2 separate regions of the Homo sapiens genome follow, and region 1 is linked to region 2. Evidence: promoter capture Hi-C in human tissues and cell types (Jung and others, 2019). All regions are on one chromosome and are shown on one strand. The core of a region is centred on a gene start or on the middle of the fragment in contact, and the rest is flanking DNA. Distances in the headings are between cores, read along the strand shown.

The links. Contacts are between HindIII fragments. The study calls those that stand out against the background at their distance.
Region 1: a contact is called between a fragment that was not itself captured here and the fragment with the promoter of MORN1 in region 2, in 1 of the 25 tissues and cell types used here (neural progenitor cells).

The regions. Positions count from the first base shown.
Region 1 is chr1:1,607,980-1,610,679 of GRCh38, reverse strand. No RefSeq gene overlaps it. Among named protein-coding and RNA genes, the nearest start is that of MIB2, 6.2 kb to the left of the region's middle. The HindIII fragment of the contact is 9,421 bases long and covers 1-2,700 here.
Region 2 is chr1:2,390,281-2,392,980 of GRCh38, reverse strand. MORN1 (MORN repeat containing 1) reads left to right here and starts at 1,427. Exons shown (of 14, transcript NM_024848.3): 1 at 1,427-1,523. The coding sequence starts at 1,448. It overlaps RER1 (retention in endoplasmic reticulum sorting receptor 1), which reads right to left and starts at 1,140. Exons shown (of 7, transcript NM_007033.5): 1 at 1,023-1,140. RefSeq lists silencers at 855-1,154, 1,255-1,364, 1,495-1,564, 1,725-1,854 and enhancers at 396-1,268, 1,137-1,431. The HindIII fragment of the contact is 12,081 bases long and covers 1-2,700 here.

The sequences.
Region 1 (2,700 bases), core at 164-2,663, 780 kb after region 2:
ACGGGGAATTGCAGTTTGGGATATGCGTGCTATGGCAGACCACAGGCACATCCAGAGAGGCTGGGACAGGGGAAGCTTCTAAAAAAACAGAAAGGAGAAGCCCACCTAAGCTGCTTTGAAGCAAAGAGCATAGGTGACGGGGACTTTGTGTTAGTCCATTCTCACGGTCTTACGAAGAACTGCCTGAGACTGGGTAATTTATAAAGGAAAGAGGTTTACCTGACCCACAGTTCCACGTGGCTCAAGAAACTTAACAATCACAGCAGAAGGGGAAGTAAACACATCCTTCACCTGGCTGCAGGAGAGAAACCTGCTGAGCAAAGGGGAAAAGCTCCTTATAAAACTACCAGATGTCCTGAGAACTCACTGTCACGAGAACAGCATGGGGGTAACTGGCCCCATGATTCAATTACCTCCCACCAGGTCCCTCCCACAACACGTGGGGATTGTGGGAAATGCAAGATGAGATTTGGATGGGGACACAGCCAAACTGTATCAGGCTTGTTGCAGGAGTTGGCATTCATCTGGAGGTGAAGACGGCCCTTGTCAGGCAAGCGTCCTCGTGCAGGCAGCTTAGCGGCAGTACTGTGGTTTTGAGAAATTCCGTAGTTTCTTTCCTGGCACACCTGGGAGAGCCCGTCCTTCGTGGCCTCCTGGCTCCATTTTTCAGGGTTTGACATAAGTGACTCCATTTTGGTACTGGCCACTTTTGCACTGGAGATCCACAGATAATGTCTTCCAGGCTGAGGTCTGTCACTCCCACAGGTGCACGGCTGAGCTAACTGCCACGTGTGTGGCCTTAGGCCCCTCAGCAGCCAGGACAATATGTTTTTTCTTTTTTCTTTTCTTTTTTTTTTTTTGAGACAGAGTTTCCTTCTTGTTGCCCAGGTGGGATTGCAGTAGCGCAATCTTGTCTCACTACAACCTCCACCTCCTGGGTTCAAGTGATTCTCCCGCCTCAGCCTCCCGAGTAGTTGGGACTACAGGCGTGCATCACCACAACCAGCTAATTTTTGGATTTACTATTAATACAGATGGGGTTTCACCATGTTGGCCAGGCTGGTCTTGAACTCCTGACCTCAAGTGATCCACCTGCCTCGGCCTCCCTAAGTGCTGAGATTACAGACGTGAGCCACCGCACCTGGCCGGTACCTTTTTTTTTTTTTTTTTGAGACAGAGTCTCACTGTGTTGCCCAGGCTGGAGTGCAGTGGCACTATCTTGGCTCACTGCAACCTCCGCCTCCCAGGTTCAAGTGATTCTTCTGCCTCAGCCTCCAGAGTAACTGGGACTACAGACGCGTGCCAGCACGCCTGGCTAATTTTTGAGTTTTTGCAGTAGAGACGGGATTTCACCATGTTGGCCAGGCTGGTCTTGAACTCCTGACCTCAAGTGATACACCCACCTTGGCCTCCAATAGTGCTGGGATTACAGGCGTGAGCCACTGCGTCCGGCCGGTACCTACTTTTTTTTTTTTTTTTTTTTGAGACAGAGTCTCGCTCTGTCACTCAGGCTAGAGTGCAGTGGCACGATCTCGGCTCACTGTAAGCTCCGCCTCCTGGGTTCATGCCATTCTCCTGCCTCAGCCTCCTGAGTAGCTGGGACTACAGGCGCCCGCCACCACGCCCAGCTAATTTTTTTGTGTATTTTTTGTAGAGACGGGGTTTCACCATGTTAGCCAGGCTGGTCTTGATCTCCTGACCTCATGATCTGCCCGCCTCGGCCTCCCAAAGTCTTGGGATTACAGGCATGAGCCACCGTGCCCGGCCGCAGTTACCTACTTTTATAACATATTTGTGGACCAGATTTGGCCCCTGAATGAAAATCAAATGATTAAGGAAATCAATGACTATTTTCAGCAATATGGTAAGTCAGGTCACCTGCAAGATCTTCTCAATGAAACAATAAAAGATCTGTATAATGTGTTTTATTGGTATTATTATTATTATTTTTGAGACAGGGTCTCACTCTGTTGCCCAGGTTGGAGTACAGAGGCGCAATCATGGCTCACTGCAACCTTGACCTCCCGGGCTCAAGTGATTCTCCTTCCTCAGCCTCCTGAGTAGCTGGGATTACAGGCTCGTGCCACCACATCCAGCTAATTTTTTTTTGGTACATTTTGTAGAGACAGGGGTCTCGCTGTGCTGCCCAGACTAGTCTCCAACTCCTGACATCAAGCAATCTGCCTGCCTCAGCCTCCCAAAGTGCAGGAATTACAGGCATGAGCTGCCGCGCCCGGCCTATTTTTTAATTATTTTTTAGAGATGGGGATCTTGCTCTGTTCCCCAGGCTGGAGTGCAGGGGTGCAATCATAGCTCACTGCAGCCTCAAACTCCTAGGCTCAAGGGGTCCTCCCGCCTCAGCCTCCCAAGTAGTTGGGACTACGGGTGTGAGCCACTGTGCCTGGCAAACAATCTGTATAAAATATGGAAAGCACAGGAGGCTGAGGCAGGAGAATGACTTGAACCCGGAAGGCAGAGGTTGCAGTGAGCCAAGATTGCACCACTGCACTCCAGCCTGGGTGACAGAGCAAGACTCCATCTAAAAAAAAATACATATATATATAATTATATATATTATACATACATTATATATAATACATATTATATATATACATATATAATATATAGTACATATATTATATATATATATGGAAAGCATTGTTTAAAATCCATGACTGAGCTGACACACAGTAAGGAAGG
Region 2 (2,700 bases), core at 178-2,677:
CCTCCGGGACTAAGAAAGCCCCCGGCTGCCGTGCACCAAGCTTCACGCCTCTGGTGTTGTTCAGTCCTCTGAAATGCCCTCCCAGACCCCGTCTCTTCCTCCTTCCCAAGGCCACATTCCAGCCTGGGCTCCCCGCTCCTCTGGGCCTGACCATCTTATATCTCCACCTGGCTCTGACACACTGTTACCGCCGTCGCCGTCACCTCAGGCATACGGCAGAAGCCATGTGAGAGTCTGAATTACTGAGAACCCTTTATCCACTTACGGGGATAACTGCATCTTCCTGGGAAATGTCAACTCAACTAAAAATAAAGTGCTTCCAGGACTAGCGGCCAGTCTCTACTCTTCATAAAGGGAAAAGGGCAAAAGCCCACTGAAGGTACTTAGGCTGAAAGCAGCCCTCTGTGCTGTGAGACACCTGGCAGAGAAACGAACGATACCTTTATCAGTGGGGCCACAGACCAGTACTAAGTCAGCCTGGAGAATTTATGATTTTATTGCCTATTTAGAATACGATCAAAACCGATGTAACTAGTTTCCCTTCAGCCCGTCAGTAACGCCTTCACCCCAGAGCTTAACACTAAATCCTACAGATAAGCGCTGACCTGGACGCAGGATGGGGACAGGGCACATTACTCTGGAATACAGCCCAACTCGCAGCGCTGTGGGGGCCGCGACTGCCCGCTTCCCCCAGATGCCAAGCAGGGGATGCGGACGAGATGCGGCCCGGGTGGCTCGAGGGCTGCAGCCCCCGCCCGGCCCCTCTCCCGCTCCCCCGACCCTCGCAGGCCCCAGGGCTCCGCCGCACCCCCCAGCACCCCGTCCCGGGCCCGACCCCGAGGCGCGACCCGTACCCCTCAGGGCCGCGGGTCGGGAACACGGTCCCCGCGGCCACCCGGGCCCCGACGGCCCTCCCCGCCCGGCCCTCAGCGCGGCCCCGCCCGCCCGCGGCCTTGACAGCCCGGAAGAAGCGGAGGCGGCGCTGCCCGGCCGTTCCCGCGCCACGCAGCCCTTCCTGGCACCTCGCAGCTCCGCTACGGCCGAGCCGCGGTCTCCCTCACGGCCGCGGGAAGGAGGACGGCGGGGCACGGGCGGCCGCAGGCGCTGCGCTCCGGCTCCGGGAAGCTGCAGCGAGCACTTCCGCTCCGTCCTCCGCGGCGCCGCCTCCAGGGCCCCCAAGATGGCGCGAGGGCGGGGCCAAGGGCTCCAACCATTTCCGCTTCCGGCGCAGACGCGCAGGCCGTTGGCGGGCGGGCCTCCCGGCGGAAGAGACGACAGCGGCGGAAACGCGCACAGGCGCAGCTGCGTCCTCTGGCTCCGGGCCCGGCTAGCTTCGCTCCAGAGATTGCGCGGGCTCAGGGACTAGGCCCGTGGCCACACCCCCCCTTGCGACAAAGACCAATGGAAGCGGGCGTTGCTGGTCGCTAAGAGAACCCTCGGCGGCAAGATGGCAGCGGCGGGCGAGGGCACCCCGAGCTCCCGCGGGCCGCGTCGGGACCCGCCTAGGCGGCCGCCCCGGAACGGTAACGACTGCGGGCCACGGGACAGGTCGCTGGCTGCCCTGGGCTCCATTCAGGGTGCGATCGCTCTACGCCCTCGACCCCCAAATGCTCACCTCGGAAAGTAGAGGTCCAGGTGCCGCGGCGGAGCCAGGGCCGCCCCCGCGTCCCCCACTCCCACAGGACTCGCCGTGCGCCTCGGGCTCGGCTCGCACCCTTCCCCGAGCCCTCCTCCCGCAGCAGGCCAAGCCCTGCAGGGGGTCGCCCCCCGCGGGCTCCTAGCCGGGAAGACCGGGTTCCGGCCGCAGCCTCACAGCCAGCGGGACCTGGGGTTGCCATGGGGATCCCGAAGCCCAGGACTTGGGGCGAGGGCAGGCGCAGGAGCAGCACCAAGCCTCCTGACTTCCTGGCCGGTGCTGTCCAGAAACGCTAGGACGCGTTTCAAAAGCAGTTTTTGCCTGTACTTCCAGCACTTTGGGAGGCCGAGGCGGGTGGATCACCTGAGGTCAGGAGTTCGAGACCAGTGTGGCCAACATGGCGAAACCCGGTCTCTACTAAAAAATACAAAAATTGGCCCGGGGTGGTGCCTCCTGTAGTTCCAGCTACTCGGGAGGCTGAGGCAGGAGAATCGCTTGAACCCAGGAAGCGGAGGTTGCAGAGAGCCGAGATCGCGCCGCTGCACCCCAGCCTGGGCGACAGAGCAAGACTCAGTCTCAAAAAAAAAAAAAAGAGCAGGTTTTGATAGGAACTGTTTCTAGAATCAAATAAACGGGTCTGGAATGAACTCAGAGCTAACACTACTATCTTCAGGTAGAACCTGACCCTGATTTGGGACAGATACAGTAGCCTGTAGTAACCCCCTGCCCTCCTCCCCGACATTTTCCCATAAACCCTGCCCACAAAATGTGCCTGAGGAGCTGGTAGGGAGGGAGCCCTGCCCATTCCTGGAACTGCAGGAGTTGGCGGGTGGCACACCCAGCAACTAGGAGGAGATGAAGCCGGCCAGGCCATCCTTGGGTATGAGTGTGGATTTTCTCCCCAGCGATAGGAGGCCACTGAAGGGCCACGGCAGGGGATGGGAGAGTCTGCTCCTCCCCTGTGTGCCTCACTGACACTGCCGCTCTGCCTTCCCCTGGCTCACTCATCTCCTGCAACAAGGCTCCCAACCTGCTCCTCACCACCTCCCGAGCACCTCTGGTCT